Linked DNA regions of Homo sapiens: regions 2, 3, 4 and 5 are each linked to region 1. Evidence: promoter capture Hi-C in 16 types of primary human blood cells and fetal thymus (Javierre and others, 2016). All regions are on one chromosome and are shown on one strand. The core of a region is centred on a gene start or on the middle of the fragment in contact, and the rest is flanking DNA. Distances in the headings are between cores, read along the strand shown. Region 1 holds the start of PSMD7 (proteasome 26S subunit, non-ATPase 7). Region 2 overlaps PMFBP1 (polyamine modulated factor 1 binding protein 1). Region 3 overlaps PMFBP1 (polyamine modulated factor 1 binding protein 1). Region 4 has its middle 50 kb from the start of PMFBP1. Region 5 has its middle 73 kb from the start of PMFBP1.

Evidence for each region. Contacts are between HindIII fragments. The CHiCAGO score rates a contact against its expected background, and 5 or more counts as called.
Region 2: a contact is called between a fragment that was not itself captured here and the fragment with the promoter of PSMD7 in region 1, in 10 of 17 cell types (M2 macrophages, total B cells, naive B cells and 7 more). The highest score is 14.2, in M2 macrophages.
Region 3: a fragment that was not itself captured here is called in contact with the fragment with the promoter of PSMD7 in region 1 in 1 of 17 cell types (M2 macrophages); the score reaches 5.7 in M2 macrophages.
Region 4: a contact is called between a fragment that was not itself captured here and the fragment with the promoter of PSMD7 in region 1, in 1 of 17 cell types (M2 macrophages). The highest score is 5.4, in M2 macrophages.
Region 5: a contact is called between a fragment that was not itself captured here and the fragment with the promoter of PSMD7 in region 1, in 1 of 17 cell types (M1 macrophages). The highest score is 6.6, in M1 macrophages.

What each region holds. Positions count from the first base shown.
Region 1 is chr16:74,294,177-74,298,063 of GRCh38, forward strand. It overlaps PSMD7 (proteasome 26S subunit, non-ATPase 7), which reads left to right and starts at 2,638. Exons shown (of 7, transcript NM_002811.5): 1 at 2,638-2,812. The coding sequence starts at 2,739. RefSeq lists enhancers at 1,871-2,762, 2,553-2,862, 2,763-3,652. The HindIII fragment of the contact is 3,645 bases long and covers 1,971-3,887 here.
Region 2 is chr16:72,120,099-72,123,985 of GRCh38, forward strand. It overlaps PMFBP1 (polyamine modulated factor 1 binding protein 1), which reads right to left. Exons shown (of 21, transcript NM_031293.3): 18 at 3,448-3,551; 19 at 2,816-2,890. Among named protein-coding and RNA genes, the nearest start is that of DHX38, 28 kb to the left of the region's middle. The HindIII fragment of the contact is 6,407 bases long and covers 1-3,887 here.
Region 3 is chr16:72,142,623-72,146,509 of GRCh38, forward strand. The region is part of intron 5 of PMFBP1 (polyamine modulated factor 1 binding protein 1); the gene reads right to left. Among named protein-coding and RNA genes, the nearest start is that of PMFBP1, 28 kb to the right of the region's middle. The HindIII fragment of the contact is 3,324 bases long and covers 218-3,541 here.
Region 4 is chr16:72,220,146-72,224,032 of GRCh38, forward strand. It overlaps a transcript of PMFBP1 not described here. Among named protein-coding and RNA genes, the nearest start is that of PMFBP1, 50 kb to the left of the region's middle. RefSeq lists enhancers at 522-1,781, 3,069-3,887. The HindIII fragment of the contact is 3,587 bases long and covers 71-3,657 here.
Region 5 is chr16:72,243,711-72,247,597 of GRCh38, forward strand. It overlaps a transcript of PMFBP1 not described here. Among named protein-coding and RNA genes, the nearest start is that of PMFBP1, 73 kb to the left of the region's middle. The HindIII fragment of the contact is 2,420 bases long and covers 616-3,035 here.

The DNA.
Region 1 (3,887 bases), core at 1,388-3,887:
CCTTCCAAGTATCTGGGATTACAGGCACAGGCCACCATGCCCAGCTCTATATTCATTTTTATTTATCTGAATAGTGTCATTTTTCCACAATGATCATGTGTAACTAGAATAATTTTTTAAGCTCATAGTCAGTTTCACACTGCTTCAGTGAGTCAGGATTGGAGACACCCAATAAGCTTCGAAACAGCTTGCTTAGGCTTAGTACAACTGCAAAGTGAACTCAGTGTGAAATAAAATATATCACTTTCTAAAGTTTGAAATTTAGTATCTTAATAAAATTAATGCAATTCTTTTGCCTAAGACTGCTGCAAGCAGGCACACCAACCAATTAGGAACTGGGGTCACAGAAACCTGGCTTGATCCTGACCAGCAATGTGATCTTGGAAAGATCCTTCCCAATGTCTGAGCCTTATTGTCATCTTCCATTTCACTATCATAACTAATTATTCATTTATATAGTAATTACTGAATGTCTCCTATGTGCCAGGCACTTTTCAAGACAATGATAATATAAAAGTAAACTAGGGGCCAGGTGCAGTGGCTCACACCTATAATCCCAGCACTTTGGGAAGCCAAGGCAGGCAGATCACTTGAGTTCAGGAGTTCCAGATAAGCCTGGCCAACACAGTGAAACTCCATCTCTACTAAAAATAGAAAAATTAGTGGGGCATGGTGGCGCTCACCTGTAGTCCCAGCTACTTGGGAGGCTGAGGTATGAGAATCGCTTGAACCTGGGAGGTGAAGGTTGCAGTGAGCCAAGATTGTGCCACTGCATTCCGGACTGGGTGACAGAGCGAGACTGTCTCTCATTTATTTAAAAAAAAAAAAAAAAGTAAACAGGAGTTTACAAACTAAACAAGAGCTTACATTCTAATGAGAGACAAAGAATGAACAGAATAAGTAAATTCTACAAACTATTCACAAGTGGTAAAAACTATGGAGAAAACTAAAGCAGAAACACATTAGGGGGAGAAAGACAAAATTTTTTCAAAGCGTGAGAAAAAGCCCACCTCGAGAGCAACATTTGAGCAACAATTTTCATTTGTAATGAGAAAATACCGACTTCGTAAGGTTGTTACAAGCCTTGTTAACACAGCATGGGCCTCACCTGAAAGCTTGTTAGAAGCTCAGAATTTCAGGTCCCATCTCAGACCTACAGAATCAGAATCTGAATTTTAACAAGGTCCCCTGGTGATTTGTAAGCATATCAAAGTTTGAGAAGCATTAATTAAAAGGATTAAATATTTGCGTCTGAACCAGGGCTGGCATATTATAGGCACTCAATAGATTCAATAATTCTTAGTTTTCTTTCCCCATTAACATAACCCTTATATCTTTCTAGTTATAATTAAGAATGAATGGCCAGGCACAGTAGCTCACACCTGTAATCCCAGCAGTTTGGGAGGCTGAGGTGGGAGGATTGCTTGAGGCTGGGGGTTTAAGACCAGCTTGGACAACATAGTGAGACACCAACTGTACCAAAAAAAAAAATGAAAAAATAAAGATAGCATTGAGTCTCTTCAATTAATTATGAATATTAAGCATATCCTGCCATTTACTTCCTTGCAGATCTAGCAGAAAATCTGAAAATAAAGCCAAGTTGCAGACAGAAGACAAAGATAAATTCACATGCAGACAAATTCAAACTCCTGACTACATTAATGTCTCTCATTGGTGGCCAAATTTCAGTCTAATCTTTGCTAATGTTTTTCACCACCCACAAATAAGAGAGACTGAGTGTGTCCCTTGACATTTGGAGATCAGGAAGTCCACCTTAAAAAGACAAGAGGCCAAAATGTTGGGAAAATCCTCTGGTGATAAAGGGAAAGCAAAAATTGTTTAAAAACAGAACAAAATATAAGTAAATAATTCAGGTTGCTTAAGTACTGTTTTCGTTTACAGAAACAGCAACTTCAAATGAGACGATATAAACCTGTATGATTTTTCTTATAATTTGCCTCCTGCAAATAAGCTTAAGTCTTTGTCTACCTTAGTCTTCTCTTTCCTAGCTACATATCACAACATACTTCCTTACTGCCTTCCTTCCGTCTTTTCTTCAACGCTTCTGTAAATTTTGATTTCAAAAGCAACGGCACAATTGCGTTCTTCTAGCCCTAGTTACGCAGTAATATAACGACAGGTGGAAACCTGCAGGTTGCCACGTTCATTGCAAAGTGTCCACAGTAAAGATAAAGGAGAAATTCCCCCGGCAATGAAAACGAGAATGAGATAAATTACCAAATTACATTAAAAGCGTGCTCTTATGTTAGAGATTTAAAGTTCCTCTCAGAAATCGCGGAGGATTTTGACCTGAAGCAAAAGTGAACTTCTTCCGGGTGGTAGAAAAGTAAACTGTCAACTATTTACTTTGGGGGGGTGGCGGGGGGAGGGTGCTGGGAAGGAATTGAGGCGAAAAGCCTCTGCAGGTGACGGTACAGGCCAATACCAGGAGGTCAAGTCGCCGGTGTCCCTTCGGCCCTTAAGTCCAGGGAAACGCACGGCGAGGGACGAGGGGCGATTCCCGCCTTTCTCCAGCCCTTTCTCCGCCCACAAATGACGGCGGTGGCGAAGATCCGGGCCCGCCGCGCGAGGCACTCTGGGAGCGGAAGAAGGAGGCCGCGCGAGGGCTGACGAACCGGAAGAAGAGGAACTGGGCCTGAAAGGGTACCGGTGACCGCTACTGCTGCCGGTGTTTGCGTGTGGCAGGGAGCCAGGCCTGGCGAGCGGGGTGTGTCGCGATGCCGGAGCTGGCAGTGCAGAAGGTGGTGGTCCACCCCCTGGTGCTGCTCAGTGTGGTGGATCATTTCAACCGGTGAGCGAGCGCCCTATAGCTGGGCCGGCGGCGCAGCCGCTGCTGAGTCACGGGCACGCTGGAGATGGCGCGGCGGCCGCGGACGAGCTGGGGACGCAGATAGGGCGGCTGGTGACCCTTACTTGTTCACGAGTCCAGACCAGCGTCGGCTCACGATGCCGGAGTCATCCAGCCTCCCGCCCCTGCCCCAGCCGCCGCCACTTCGGGGCCTTGGCTGCCTGTTCCGTTTAGCCTGTTTGTTTTACAGAGTTCCCTTTCCGAGTTCGTTTTGCCGAAGTTCGTTTTACCGAAATCTGGATGATGCTGGGGGTCGGGAGATGCGGCTAGCTTTAGTTGGCCCTGACCCCCGCCCCCAAGCTCGTGTCTGTCACTTCGTTTTGAAGTTCGTTTTGCCGAAATCTGGATAAAGCCAGGGTGGGGCGGAGGCGGGCTAGCTTCATTTGGCTCTGACCCCCGACCCCAGGGTCGTATCTTCATTTGACTCAGTTGATTTCACTGAAATGTGAATAATGCAAAGTGACTGATGTCTGGATGATGCTTGGGTGGGGCGGAGTGGGCTAGCTCCATTTAGCCCCGCCCCAAGGCTATGTTTATCTTCGTTTGACCGAATTGGTTTCACCGAAATATGGATGATGCTGGAGTGGGGTGCAGGGTGGCTACCTTCATTTGGCCCTGACCCCGGCCCCAGGGTCGTATTTATGTTTATCCTCGTTTAACCAAGTTGATTTCACCGAAATGTGAATGATGCAAAGTGAATGATGCCTGGATGATGCCGGAGTGGGGCTAAGGGGGCTAGCTTCAATTTGGCCCTGACCCCCGCCCCCAGGGTCGTATCTATGTTTGTCTTCATTTGACCGAGTTCCTGTTATCGAAATCTGGATGATGCTCAGCACCCCGAAGGGCTTCCTGGATCAGCTGTGGTTTTAACCCATTAACATTTTTAAATGGGAATCTGATTAGACTCCGTCTCAAAAAAAAAAATGTATATATAGATGAGGTTTCAGTTTTTATTTAAAACACGAGGCCGAGCATGGTGGCTCACGCCTGTAATCCCAGCATTTTGGGAGGCTGAGAC
Region 2 (3,887 bases), core at 811-3,310, 2.2 Mb before region 1:
GGAGAGGAAGGACGGGTTGTGTTGGGGCTGCTGGCTCTGGTTGGTTCCCTGCTAGAAAGGACAGATAAAGGTGTCACAGGGAAGACAGCACAGATGCCCAGGTCTGTTCAGAGCCGGCCTGTTACACATGCTCTGTAGAAATGGAAGCCTACGTGTGTCCTGTGAAAGAAGCCCAGGCCTGGGGTCTGAGTGGACCAGGAGCTGGTACTCCTGCCCAACTCTGCCAGCTCTGGGCCTGTTTTCTTATCTGTCAGACGGGGACAGTCAGGCCTGGCCTGACTGATGGGATTCATACGAGGATCTGGTTTGATAAATGATAGAAATTTGACTTGAAGAGCCAGAAGGCTGGTAGGGACAACTGTGATCATGTGTCCTCGGGTTCTCATGGCCGTGCCTTGGAAACACTCTCACCCAGCACCAATGCCAAAGCCCGCATTCTCTCCGCTCCCCTTTGCTGAAGAGTCGGGAGCACAGGAGATCCCAGCTCTGTCAAGAACTTGGGTGAGTTACTCATCCCCATTTTACAGATTAGGAAATGGAGGCTGCCACGTAGAGGAGAGGAAAGATAATTTAGCGCATTCCCCGTGGCTCAATAAATAGCAACTTTTATTATCACTGTTGTGTGTCTCCAAACTAATGTTGAGGGCAGTGGGTGAAGGTGGGCTCTGAAACCAGACTTCCCACGTTGGAATTGTGACTCTGCCACTTATTAGTTTTGAGACCAGGGGCAAGTTACTTAGTTTCCCAGGTCCTCTCTTTCCTCATCCATAAATGGGGATCATGACTATACTGAACACAGGAGGTCTTATGAAGATGAAATGAGCTCATATGTGTCAACGCTTAGTACCTCACACACAGCAAATAATATGTATTAGTTGAGCTACTATCATCATTAAAAGTTGGTTTTCTTTCAAATAAGAACAGGAGAACTCAAGAGTGAGTTCTTTGTGAAAGAGAACTTCCTGGACTTGGCACAATAGAAGAAAAAGACTGAAGTTATCTGTTACCTTGAGAATCTGACAACTTTTCTTTTACTTACACCCTAGTAAAAAGTTTCGTGGTCTTTTCTAGAGGAAATCAAGTAGAGAATTCATCCTCAACCTCTTCTGTGGGCATATGCTCTACCCTTTTGCTCTCTACAAAGCTGGCCAACCTTGAGGTCGCCTCTTCCCCCGCCCAGTAGCCCCTCACTCCCAGTGCTGGTGGGTCTGGAGAGGGGGTCTCAGCAGTGCCCTCCTTTCCCGGCTCTCTGGCTCCCTCCTGTCAGCATCCCCAAAGCCTTCAATATCCCATACAGCTCATCCACATCCTGACTTCTCAATTCATTGGCCTCCTTATTCCAAAGGTCTCATCCTTCTCTTCAACTCAGCCATGTACCTAAGGCCAAAGCCTAGAATAGGGCTTTCCACCTGGGGTGCCACGAATGGATTCCAGGTGTTTGGAGATGCCTGCCTGCCCTTGGGGGCAGGCTCTGAGGCAGCCACTGCTTGGTCAGCTTTGTCACAAGTATGCCAAACAAATGTGGTTACTTTCATCGTTTTTTAGAGACAGGGTCTCATTCTGTCACCCAGGCCAGAGTGCAGTGGTGTGAACATAGGTCACTGTAGCCTCAACCTCTTGGGCTCAAGCAATCCTCCCACCCCAGCCTCCCAATTAGCTGGGACTGTACGTGTGCACCACCATGCCTGGTTAGGCTCATTTTTAAATTTTTTATACAGACAGGGCCTTGCTGTCGTCCAGGCTAGTCTTAAACTCCTGGGCTCAAGTGATCCTAAACTGTGGTCATTTTCTTTTTCACTTTTATTTTATTTTCACTTTTAGTTTAGATTCAGGGGTACATGTTACATCGGTAAACTCATGTCACAGGATTTTGTTGTACATTTTATTTCATCACCCAGGAATTAAGCCCAGTACCCAATAGTTATCTTGTTTGCTCCTCTCCCTCCTCCCACCCTCCACCCTCTGACAGACCCCATTGTCTGTTGTTTCCTTCTTTGTGTTCCTAAGTTCTCATCATTTAGCTCCCACTTACAAGTGAGAACATGTGGTACTTGGTTTTCTATTCCTGTGTCAGTTTGCTAAGGATAATAGCCTCTAGCTCCATCCATATTCCCACAAAGAAATGATCTCATTCTTTTTGATAGCTGCATAGTATCCATGGTGTTACGTAAGGCATGGTTGTTTTCTAAGTGTTCCCTAAGAAAAGGTTGGGAAGCGCTGTCCTAAGGCTTGTTGTTACTTGTTACTTTGCCACCTCCAAAATCTCAGTTTTAGGCCTTCATACCTTCACCTCCATTCTCAAACTGGTAACACTCCTCGCATACCTCCCTCTTAGTGGACCCAGCTTTGACCATGAGGGGAAGCAAGACCACAGGCCCCCAGATGAGCAGGTGGAACAGAAGGGCTCCTCCAACCTGGCCTGCTCACCTGATGATTTCATGAAGAGATGTTCCTTGTTTGTTCCTTCACTTGGGATCTGTTAGAGCATCTCAGCCCCTGCCCTAAATAATCCAGTCTGCCTTTCAGTGCCTGTTCCCTGCTTAGCACCCTTGACCTCTGAGAACCATGAGAGCAGGAAGGAGCAAAAAGACTACTAAACTCCCTTTGGATTTTTGGTGAGAGAACTAAGGCCCTGAGAGGTCAAGTGATATACCCAAGGTCACATAGATGCAGATTCGAGACCTGGGGGTCTTTCCAAAGCACCAGGCCTTTCCTGGGCTGATCCCCCTATCAAGGGCTAAAGCCAGCCCTGGCTCCCTGCTGACCCTTCTTGTCAGCTCCCAGGAAGCAGCCAGGGTGGTTTAAGATGACTTACTCCTTTTCGCCACTCAGCTTGGCAATGTATTTCACCTGCTCTCGGAGCTGGTTTCCTAGTTTCTCATTGGCGACCCTGTAATAAAATCACAGGAGAAAACAGCAGCCAGTCGCCAGCCTCCCGCGAGCAAGGGTGCAGCTGGCTGAATGGGATGCTGGGTTCTCAGCAAGACTGCTGCTGCATCCCACGTCCCCCACGCATCACCCCGTCCGCAGAGCTAAGGCCTTCCTAGCACCTGGGGATTCAGAGGACTCTCTGAACTCAACTCCTATGCAAAATCCTGTGAGCCCCAGGTGAGTTCAAGGGAATGAGTTCAAGGGGGCCAGGCAGTGAAGCTGGATCCTGGGATGGGAGGAGGATATCTGAGCCAATGTCCCCCTTCCTTCTTGCTGCCGAGCAAAGCACCCCTTCCTTCCTGCCATCGCTGTTTCCAGCTCAGCAGAGGGCTTTCCAGGCCTGCCTGAAGGGTTGAGCCCTCCTCTCCATCTTATTTCCATCCCTTGGGTGTGGGCTGAGACTGGATCTGTTTTCCAGGAGTGCAGGGGTGTGTGTGACTAATCTTTGGCACGCATGTGGCTCCTCGGCTCAGTCCAGGCCTCGGACCCTGCCTCCCTTTTTCCTCCCATACTCACTTCTGCTGTTTTGCCCATTGCTCCAAGTTGGTCATAATCTGATCATTCCCTCGGTAGAGCCTACAGGTGTCTTTGGGCACAGACCACTGGGGCAGGCAGCAGGGCTTGGGTACAAGAAGAAAACGAGACAGTCAGAGGTGGGAGCACAGGCCTGTCAGCCCTCCTTCCGAGTCAGGCCTCTTCTATCTCCCTGGGAAAAGAAAACTTGACTCTGCTGTCCAACCCGAGGCCAGAGTTGTGGAGTTGCCACCAGACCTCCCCCTCTGGCTTGTGCGGGTGGCATCTCACACAAAGGTGACATCTCTGAGAAGGCACCATTTATGGCAGAGACACGTAGATTTGTACACTTATAATCACGGTTTTCAGTGTGAAGGCATTAAAGTGACTCCTAAAAAAGAAGTATGCTAAGCCAATTTTCCAACAGATGGAAGAAAAACATC
Region 3 (3,887 bases), core at 630-3,129, 2.2 Mb before region 1:
CTCAGACATGGAAATATTGAGAAATTGTGCCACCCACAATTGTTTCTGAAAGAATTAAGAAGGAATTATTTACAGCAAAAGGAAAACTCCAAGAATGCAGAAGAGGTGAAGGGACTGCCGAGCATAGTAATGAGAAACAGCTGGGTTTATTTGTAATATTAAAGAAATAGATACTTCCTATATATACACAGTGGCAGAGATTTAAAAGAAGGTGAAAAGCTTTCCAGCTCATTATATTAGGATGGCATAATCCAGACACCAATATGCAAGGAAAGCACAAAAATTTAGGCCATCAAATTAATCTCATTTCTGAAAATAGATGAAAAAAAATTAACTTTTAACAAATTTAGTAAAGTTCATTAAAATTATTAATAATATATTATGATCAAATAGGGTTTATTCCAGGAACATAAACATTGTTCTATATATGAAAATCTATTCGTGTAATCTGCTTCATTGATGGATAGATGCTAATAAAAACATCTGATAAAATTCAACATTCATTCCTAATAACAATTCTTGATAAGCTAAATATAGACAGTCATACTTACAATTTGAGAAAGGATATTGAAAATAAGCCAAGAACAGGCATTATACTTAATAGTGAAATACTAGAATTACTTCCTTTAAAATGAGGAGCAAGGCAAAGAGGCTACAATTCCACTTTGCTCTAGAGATGCTGGTCAATACGATAAGATGGAAAATAAGTTGTGTAAATTTTGAAAGGGAAAGCAATTTAGGAAAATCCAAGACAGTCAAGTGAAAATCTGGTAAGAGAGCTCAGTAAGGTGGCAGGATAAGAGAGAAGTTTTCCTATACAACAGTAATAATACAATTAGGCCGGGCGTGGTGGCTTGCACCTGTAATCCCAGCACTTTGGGAGGCTGAGGTGGGAAGATCACTTGAGGTCAGGAGTTCAAGACCAGCCTGGCCAACATGGTGAAACCCTGTCTCTGCAAAAATAACAAAAATTAGCTGTCTGTGGTGGCACGTGCCTGTAGTCCCAGCTACTTGGAAGGCTGAGGCAGAAGAATTGCTTGAACCCAAGAGGCGGAGGTTGCAGTGAGCAGAGATTGCCTCACTGCACTCTAGACTGGGTGACAGAGTGAGACTCCATCTCAGAGACAAAAAAAATTGGCCGGGTGTGGTGGCTCATGCCTGTAATCCCAGCACTTTGGGAGGCCAAGGTAGGCAGATCACCTGAGGTCAGGAGTTCGAGGCCAGCCTGACCAACATGGAGAAACACTCCTCTCTACTAAAAGTACAAAATTAGCCAGGCCTGGTGGCACATGCCTGTAATCCCAGCTACTCGGGAGGCTGAGGCAGGAGAATCGCTTGAACCTGGGAGGCGGATGTTGCAGTGAGCCGAGATTGCACCATTGCACTCCAGCCTGGGCAACAAGAGCGAAACTCCATCTCAAAAAAAAAAATTAATAAAATTAAATGTATAAAAGATCCCATTTATAAAACCAATAACAACTGAAATATGTCCAGGAATAAACATAGCAAGAAATACGTGAGATCTACAGAGAAAAGTACAAAATCTTACTGAAGGACACACAAGAAAACTTGCATAAAAGTAAAAATATGTCATATTCCACAGGGCATGCTAATTTCCCCCAAATTAGTACATAATTTGAAAGTCAGTCAACATAAATCTAAATTTCATTAAGAAAAGAAATAAAAAAATGGCCAAGAAAAAATAGAAAGTGTAGAAGAGTGAAGGAGGACCTGTCCTAACAGGATCTATTAAAACAAGCTACCAGTTAAAGTCACTAAAAAACTCTGACACTGGCACACGAACTGGCAGAAAGATAAAAAAAATACCGAGTCCAGAGAAGGTCCCGTGTACAGAAGAATCGGTCTGTGAGCTGGTACCTGAACCAGTGTGGAAGGCTTGGGATGTTCAATAAATGGTTTTGAGGCCACTGGATATTTATTTAAATAATAAAATTCGAGCCTTATGTCATTATACATATAAAATATATATTCCAGATGGACTAAAGATAAAAACATAAAAATGCAAAATTATAAAAGTGCTAAAGAAAATATACAATAAACTTTTATAATCCTGAAGGTAGTGAAGGCCTTTCTAAGCAAGACATAAAACCTAGAATTTATAAAGGACTGACAGATTCAACTCCATAAAAATTAAAATCTTCTGGCATTACATAATGGTAAAGGGATCAATGCAACAAGAAGAGCTAACTATCCTAAATATATATGCACCCAATAGAGGAGCACCCAGATTCATAAAGCAAGTTCTTAGAGACCTACAAGGAGACTTAGACTCCCATACAATAATAGTGGGAGACTTTAACACTCCACTGTCAATATTAGACAGACCAATGAGACAGAAAATTAACAAGGACATCCAGGACTTGAACTCAGCTCTGCACCAAGCGGACCTAATAGACATCTACAGAACTCTCCACCCCAAATCAACAGAATATACATTCTTCTCAGCACCACATCACACTTATTCTAAAATTGATCACATAATTGGAAGTAAAACACTCCTCAGCAAATGTAGAAGAATAGAAATCACAACAAACTGTCTCTCAGACCACAGTGAAATCAAATTAGAACTCAGGATTAAGAAACTCACTCAAAACCGCACAACTGCATGGAAACTGAACAACCTGCTCCTGAATGACTACTGGGTAAGTAACGAAATGAAGGCAGAAATAAAGATGTTCTTTGAAACCAAGGAGAACAAAGACACAGCATACTGGAATCTCTGGGACACATTTAAAGCAGTGTGTAGAGGGAAATTTATAGCACTAAATCCCACAAGAGAAAGCAAGAAAGATCTGAAGTTGACACCCTAACATCACAATTAAAAGAACTAGAGAAGTAAGAGCAAACAAATTCAAAAGCTAGCAGAAGACAAGAAATAACTAAGATCAGAGTGAACTGAAGGAGATAGAGACACAAAAAAACCTTCAAAAAATCAATGAATCCAGGAGCTGGATTTTTGAAAAGATCAACAAAATAGATAGACTGCTAGCCAGACTAATAAAGAAGAAAAGAGAGAAGAATCAAATAGATGCAATAAAAAATGATAAGGGGGACATCACCACTGATTCCACAGAAATACAAACTACCATCAGAGAATACTATAAACATCTCTATGCAAATAAACTAGAAAATCTAGAAGAAATGGATAAATTCCTCGACACATACACCCTCCCAAAACTAAACCAGGAAGAAGTTGAATCTCTGAATAGACCAATAACAGGTTATGAAATTGAGGCAATAATTAATAGCCTGTCAACCAAAAAAGTTCAGGACCAGACGAATTCACAACTGAATTCTACAAGAGGTACAAAGAGGAGTTAGTACCATTCCTTCTGAAACTATTCCAATCAATAGAAAAAGAGGGAATCCTCCCTAACTCATTTTAAAAGGCCAGCATCATCCTGATACCAAAACAGAGACACAACAAAAAAAGAGAATTTTAGACCAATATCCCTGATGAACATTGATGCGAAAATCCTCAATAAAATACTGGCAAACCGAATCCAGCAGCACATCAAAAAGCTTATCTACCATGATCAAGTCGGCTTCATCTTTGGGATGCAAGGGTGGTTCAACACACGCAAATCAATAAACGTAATCCATCACATAAACAGAAGCAATGACAAAAACCACATGATTACCTCAATAGATGCAGAAAAGGCCTTTGACAAAATTCAACAGCGCTTCATGCTAAAATCTCTCAATAAACTAGGTATTGATGGGATGTATCTCAAAATAATAAGAGCTATTTATGACAAACCCATAGCCAATATCATACTGAAAGGGCAAAAACCGGAAGCATTCCCTTTGAAACCCAGCACAAGACAAGGATGCCCTCTCTCACCACTCCTATTCGTGTAGTATTG
Region 4 (3,887 bases), core at 614-3,113, 2.1 Mb before region 1:
AAAGAATTATACTCTTTAAATCAAATCCTCAGGTTATTCCAAAGAAACTAACTTCAAACTTTTTTAAAGAAGCTTTCAGTACAAAGATGTTCATCACAAAGTATTTGCAATAACAGTTTGAGAATTAGCTTAGATGCCCAACTACAGTGGAGTGGTTTAGTAAATTATGACACATCTGCTAGATGGAATATTAAACAGCCATTAAAAACGATGCTTGAAGGAAGTATGTTATCTAATGTTATAATGTTAAATGGAAAAAAGGATATTCAGTATATCGCAAATGCATAAAATAAAAACCAAAAGCCCATGAATAGGAAAAAAATGTCTAGAAGGAAACATACCATAATTTGAATAGAGGTTGTCTTTAAGTGGTAGAGCTTGGTTTTCCCCTATTTGATAAATTCTTTTGCATTTCCTAGATTTTCTATATAAACATTTAATGACTATTTAATCAGAAAAATGAGCTCCAACGAGAAAACACAGAATGAAGAATGATGAAGACTTAGTGGAGACAGGAGGTATGAGAGAGGGCTCAGAGACAGTACTCGGCCTTGCATTTTTCTCCAGGCCTTGCAGGATGCAAGGTGGACAGTGCTGCAGTCCTGTGGATCTGGTGCCCTAGGCTCTGCAGACACATTGAGGGGACCCAGGGCTCTGAACAAATGGCCAGATGGTAAGAACACATCCCTCGAGTTGTTTCTTCCAGTTGCATTTTTCCCTAATCACTGTCTGCTTTGGGAAAGGTCGATCAACCTAGCAAAAGTACCCCCTGGACATCTTCACTAGGTCCACTGACTGCTCCCCAGAACTCTCAGTTTCCTGAGGATTGTGCCCTTTCCCTTCCTTTCCTGCTGCAGCTTCTCAGCCTAAGCGAACCTAGAGAGAGCAAGGGTGGGGAAGGAGAGCAGGGGTATGTGATTGCGCTGAGAACACCAAAAGCCCATAAAGTCTGAAAGGTTAAGCAAAGACTGAGGCATGAAGAGTGAAAATTCTCCATTCAACAATAATCCTCGCCCCCTGCCACCCCTGACATCTCTTCTTAAAATGGAAAGAAAGGGTGCATGATGACATTAGGCACTTTAAAATATGCAAAATTAGGAGCTGGTGCAGACCTCATTAACACCCGCCTCCAACATCATTAAGATGTTTCCAAGAAAATTAATTGAGAGACTCATTAAAAATAAATTAAGAAAAATGTGTTGCAGAGCGCCTGCACTCAGCTCATAAATCACAGCTCAGTGCTCTGGCCCGCTGCTCCGGCAATTAACTCCAACCTATTTGTTTTATCCTGACTGTGAAAATTAGAAAGCAGACGTGGAGATTAGATTAGGAATGTCTGTCAAGCGGAACTTGGAGTGAATATTTTAGGATACAAAATGGAAACCAGGAAAACAAAGACAGCAGAGATTTCATTCTGAGGAGCTTGTCTTTGAAAAGTGACAGGCAGATGAAGGGTGCTGGAGGGAGAGTATGGGGAAGGAGTACCTACTCTCGGGAAGGATGAAGGGGGAGAGAAAAGAACAGATGTTTAAACTCTTCTGACCAGGAATCGTGCAATACATTTGCATTATAAATATAAACAGTTACACATCTTAGTAAAGCTGGCATTGAGACATAAAATTGATGTTCCTGATGATACTTCATATGTCATACTTTAATGTTTAGACATAGAGTCATTTGGTTGAATCACTCGAAAGAGTTACTGGTCTCTTGCAATATTTTATGTATCAGTGATGACCACATGTTCCTCTATATGAGGTGAAATATGCCAGCCTCTTCCCTGTATCTCTCACTTAACAACAGTTATTGAGTAGCAGGCACTTTGCCGGGCTCAGGTATATGTGTCACTTCATTTAATTTTCGTAACTCCAAAAAAGAAAACCATTTTACAAGATGTTGAAACTGAAGCTCAAAGTAAAGCAATATGCATGGGAGTCGTGTGGCCAGTAAGTGGCAGAGTTGGGGTTGCAATCCTGGTGGGGTTTTTTGGTTTGGTTGGTTGGGTTTTTTTGAGTCTGGATCTTGCTATGTTGCTCAGACTGGTCTTGAATTCCTGGTCTCAAGGGACCTTCCTGCCTCACCTTCTCAAGTAGCTGGGTTAAAGGCACTCACCACCATGCCTGGCATAACCCTGGCATGTTAAACCTAAGATCAGTGCAGCCCTCAGCTTCTTTTCATTCCAAAGTTCATTTCAGGTCACTGTATTTTCCAAGCCTCAAACTAGAAAGGCTTTTTGTTCTTCCCTCCTTCCTCCTTCTATCTCTTATTTCCACAAATATTTTATTGCATGCTTGCAATATGCCAAGCATGGTATCAGGTCTGGGGGGATAGAGCAGTGGGCTTGTTGAGTTTGGGAAGACAGGTGCTGGTTAAGTCACTGCAAATGTGAGGGTCACTGCAGAGACCACAGCACAAAGGGAAACAAAGACTGTGCCCATCCCTCAGGTCATTTGTTGAATACCTGCTATGTAACGGTGCTGAGGACCCAGATGTTAGACTGCCGACTCTCCCACTTACCAGCTATGAGATGTTGGGTAAGTTATTTAATCTCTCAGTTTCCACATCTGTAAAATGGGGATAGTATTAGTACTTACCTTGGAGTTTTTTGTTTTTGTTTTTTTCTTTTTTGAAGATGAAATGAGAAATCCATGAGAAGCCCTTAGCAAAGTGCCTGGCTTAGAGTAAGCTCTGGGTAAATGTCAGCAGTTATTATTTAAAGGTGACATTTAAGTTGACTCTTAAAGGAGCAGTAGGAATTCAATCAGAATTCCATTTCTGGGGACAGCTGCAGTCTTATAGGTGGTATTTAAAATTATTTGGCTCTTTCAAATAAAAAGGGGAGTGAATAATCTTGGGTATTAATAAAAGGCTAGCCAGCTTGTCATGACACACAGCCTCACTGGGTCATGAATATGCTACCCCAGGCTGTGCATGGGAGTGGGATGCAGCAGGGCAAGAACTGGGGGGAAGTTTTGCTTCCTGTTCTCCAGGACATCTCAAAGGCACTGGGGAAAAAAATCCCATCCTGCACAAGGAAGAAAGGTTAAAGTTGAGGAGTATGTCACAGCACCGAATTTCCATGGCTCTTTCCTGCCTTGCCTAGGAGACAGTTGTGGATCAGTATTAGTGAACTGGCATTACTAATCTTTGGAAATTCAGTGACAGTGAGTGGATTGCATTTTATTTTTCATTTTGTTTTAATCTTGTTTTTAAAAGACTGGGTGTAGTTCCCGATTACAGGTCTGTTGGCTCATCCTTAATTGCAAGGCTCTTGTAACCCAGAAGATGCCAATATCCAAGTGGGTACTCAGCTGGCTGTTCTGATATGGCCCTAACAGTTGTTTACAGTTGGTGTTCTCAGTGTTCCTTATGACCAGTCAGTGGCTGGGCTGTAAAATTATTCAGTGTTTTGAATACCATGCTGGACCAAGGCAAAGTTTGAAATATATGAAGCATGAGAATAAAAGACTTCCTAGGTAGCAGGTCACCTGCCCAAATCATAAGTAAGGGCCAACAAGCTAGAGCTGCTGAGTAGAGTACCCTGAACAGGAAAAGGACAAAAACTAGTAGACATGACAAAGGAGGGCTGCTGCATGGTCAAAGGCACCAGGAACCTATCAGAGGATGGGGCTACAGGACTTACCTTCTGAAACTACAAGCTTTACTGAAAGGAATATAATACATGAAGAGAAACACATTGGAAAATTACTAGCTAAGAATAGAAATTTCCTTCTTAAAGGTTCCTATCTATACCTTAAAGGCCAGAGATCTATTGAAGGGCAAACACCTGGGAAGGATAGCATTGCAAATTCTTACCTTCAGGATGAATTTCACACCCTTTCCAGATGACAGATTTGACACTGGAAATGAAGTAAACAGACACGACC
Region 5 (3,887 bases), core at 576-3,075, 2.1 Mb before region 1:
ACTCATGTTTGTTTGGATTCACAACACATACTCTGAGTAGGGAGAAAGAGAATCTATAAGCTTTAAAGATCTCTGCCTAAACCAGACCAAGAGATTAAAGGGGAGGGCAAAGGGGAGGGTCCAGACTGATTTCCGCACACCAGCACTCGTAACACAGGGATAGATTCCTGAAAGAGGGACTGACCTGCACGAGAGTTTTCATCAGTGGAATTTTAATGAGCCCTAAAGGTTAGCCTTCGACTTCGTTAACAAACAGCTCTAGAGATAATTTCCAATTTTCAGTGTTTATAGAATAGTGGTTCCTTGGTCATAATGAAATTCTGAGACTGTCTAGAGCCTATTCTGCATGTCCAGCTGAGGCTGAAACACAAACCCTCAAAAACAATTAAACGTGTGCTCAAAATCAAATGCAGAAGAAATAAAAAGAGGAAGGCATTTTGCAAATTAAAGTGATCACATTAACCTCCTTTGATGAAATCGGTTCAGTCAAATGAAAAATACTTATTAAAAAAACAAACCCTGCACAGATATTTTAGCTATTGAGGGTAATGATTATTCTAATATTGAAATGGACACAGACAAGAAAAAAAAGAGAGATAATAAACAAAAGAGGAAAGCTTCATTCCCAGTAGCTAGAGACCAGAGTCCCTGTTATGTGTAAGTGGGTTGTAAATGTGTAGAAAAGAATATAGATGCAAATATTGCCAAAATTGACACTAAAGGATAAAGGATAGGTCAGTTTGTTGAAAATACGTCCCCTCTCCTTCTTCTCCCCTCTCCCTGCTTTCTCAGGTTCTACTGGGTCCTTGAAGAATTGCCATAATTGCACCAGAAAGGAAACAAGTATGACTGAGATTCCAGCCACATAAAACAAGAGCAATGGGTGGTTAAGACAAAGGGCCACATCTAAAGATTTCTTTTCCTCCAAAACTGGGTGGAAAATCCTTTCACTTTCTCCAAAAGGATGACCAAATCTCCTACTGGTATGGGGACCAACAGAAGATGCTTGAGCTGTAAATGCTGGGAGAAATATTCTTTAGTTTATTAAAGTTAGGCTAAATTTTATTTCTTCCAGTGCAACAAATCCCTTTCACTCCCCAGGCTAGCCACTTCCCTTCTTGATTCACAGAAGAATGGAAGGGGTTAAAAAACAAAACAAAAACCAGAGCTGGCCTGAAACTCTGCCACTCCAAGGGTGCAAGAGGTTAGGGAGCAAGGGGCCCCGCTGCGTGATGCTCTGGTCAGTTTTGGGCACGCAAGAGAGCATGGGGGGCATGAGAGTCGGGCAACTGACTTGGGTTCCAGTTCCAGTTTTGCATTTACTCCTTACTCCCCGTGTAATCCTGGTGGGGGCAGTCAATTCCTCAGAGTTGCAGTTTTCTCCTAGGGCTAAAGGGATTAATGAGTTCAGGTAATGTTAGCACTGGGGGGGATCTCAGGGATTATTTAATCAATTCTCCTCATTTTATAGACAGAAAACTAAATAACAATAACAGCAGTTATAATAATAAAAACAATTATAACTAATATTTTTGAGCATTTAACATGTGCTAGGCACTATTCTAAGCACTTTACAAGTATTCTATTATCTCAACTACCCTGGTTGGTAGATAGTACTGCTACTTCCATTTTACAGGTGGGGGAACTGAGATGCCGTGAGGTTCAATATCCAAGGTGGTACAGCTGGTAAATGGTAAAGCTGGGCTTCAAACCCAGATGGCCTGGCTACAGAGCCCATGCTCTTAAACGCTGTAGTTTAGTAAACCATGAATTCCCCATGGTTTGCACAGGGGTTGCACTCTTTTCAGAAAAGGGTGCACTGCCTGAATTCGTGCTGCATATGGTCCTGAAAACACAGACCCTACAGAGACATGTTTTCAGAATCATGGCAATGGCTGACGATGGCTAATCTGTTCCCTCCAGGTTCCCCGAGTTCATGGCTTCTCTCCAGCCAAATTTTCTCCCAGCCTGCTGTCACAGGTGTAGTGCAGTGCTCCCAGGATGCCCCGGTCTGTACGGTGCCCTTCCCAAGTCACACTGCCACTGCTCTTTAACTCTCTGCTGATGGCTTCTCCCTCTCTCTCTCCTTCACTCTCTCTCTCCAACCATTTCCTTGAACTTCACTTGAGCTGATATTACACTTGTATTTGAACACCCAGCATGACACTCTCTATTTCTTTGCTCCAGCACCAGTGCTTGACCATCTTTTGTTAGCCATTATGGATCAAAACTGCTTCTCGGGACAAAAATAAATGGCAGAAAGAGAGATCATGGCAGAATAAACACCACCACTGCAAAAGACAGTCTACTCTGGATAGTGTGGGAGCATACTCATTGGGTAAGAGTGGTTGCAGAATGGTGCATTATGCGCACTGGGGAGGGAGGAGATTACAGTTTGCCAGATTCACTCTCATCGGCTAATAGCACCCAGTGCCTAAGAAAAGTACATTAACAGTATATGGTAACAGACAGTTGCTGAAAGGACAATAGCATTAATATTAAATTACTGTTGCATAGAGAAGTGATAAATAGGTGATGTGTGTTCTAAGCTCAAAGAGGCCTGGTGACTTGCCTCAAGTTGACAAGTGGTAGTAGGTGGCAGAATCCTACTACAGCCTAGGTCCTCTATTTCTCAGGACACTGGTTTGCTGTTGGATAACATCAGACTCCTCAGGCTACTGTGAGGAACAGCTGAAATGAAAGCGCCATATGACAAATTCCAGACACCTGGACAAGGCACATAGGTCCTTTGTGATCTGGCCTCACCTGCCATTTCAGTCACGTATTTCGTGCCTTAATGTCCTCACACCTGCTGTCCCTTCTGCTTGAGGTGACAACTTCCCCAGTCCCCTCTCATCACTCCTCTTTCTCCAGCTGTAAACACCTGTTCATCTTTCAAGATCTGGCCACAAGGTTACTTTCTCTGTGAGGCTTCCTGTCTTCTCAGTATTTCCTGTAGTACACATGGTTAGAACGCTCGCTGTATAGGATAATGATTGACTGGTTATTATTCTCTCTCCCCTTCTTAACGAGGAAGCTTATTGAGGGCAGAGACTATATTTATTTCTCTTTTTATCTTCAGTGCCTAGCAAAGGGCATGGACCATCTTATTTACTCTAAATATACAAGGAAGGAAGAAAGAGAGGGAGAGAGGGAAGGAATATCCTCCTGAAACTATAAAGCAGTATAGAAATAAAAAGTTTTACTAACAAGAGAAAGATGCCCACTGTTTGATACCCTCCTACTGTTCAGGAATGAGCTTACTGTTTTCACAAGCAAAATGCTCTGACACAAAATGGGGCAGGCGACGATGAAAGCAGGAAGCTGACTTCTTACTCCCCATTTACCTGTCCGATGAAGAGGTACACAATTTCCCCAGGATAGAAGGAATGCCCTTCATTAATGCCATTTGCTAGCAGTAATTTAGTTAACTGAATAATCACACAAGGTAAAGAACACAGAGACTTAAGGATCTCTGTCTAATGCATGATACTAAGATATTTTATAAGGTGGCATGTAGTTAAGTGTGCTTAAATGCAATCACAGAGCATTTTCTTTGGTCATTTTCATCTGGAGGTTTTAGAAAAACCAGGAGAGAAAAGCAGCATCCTCAGGGATTTTTCCTTAGAGTACAATTTTTACAAAAAGCTGAGTGTACAACTTGCAAAATAATAAGCTTCAGTGATAACACAAGCTTCAGCTACAATTATCACAAAGAGCAAGTCTGCTGCCCAAGCTTCTAACTTATCCTTGTGACTACAGAACATCCCAAAATGTCACATTCAAGTTGAAGTGACTGCAGCCAATTAGGTAATTTCCACCAAATTGGGTCCATTAATACTTGGACATTATCTTGAGGGTGAAATAGGATTCAGTGACAAGGTGCA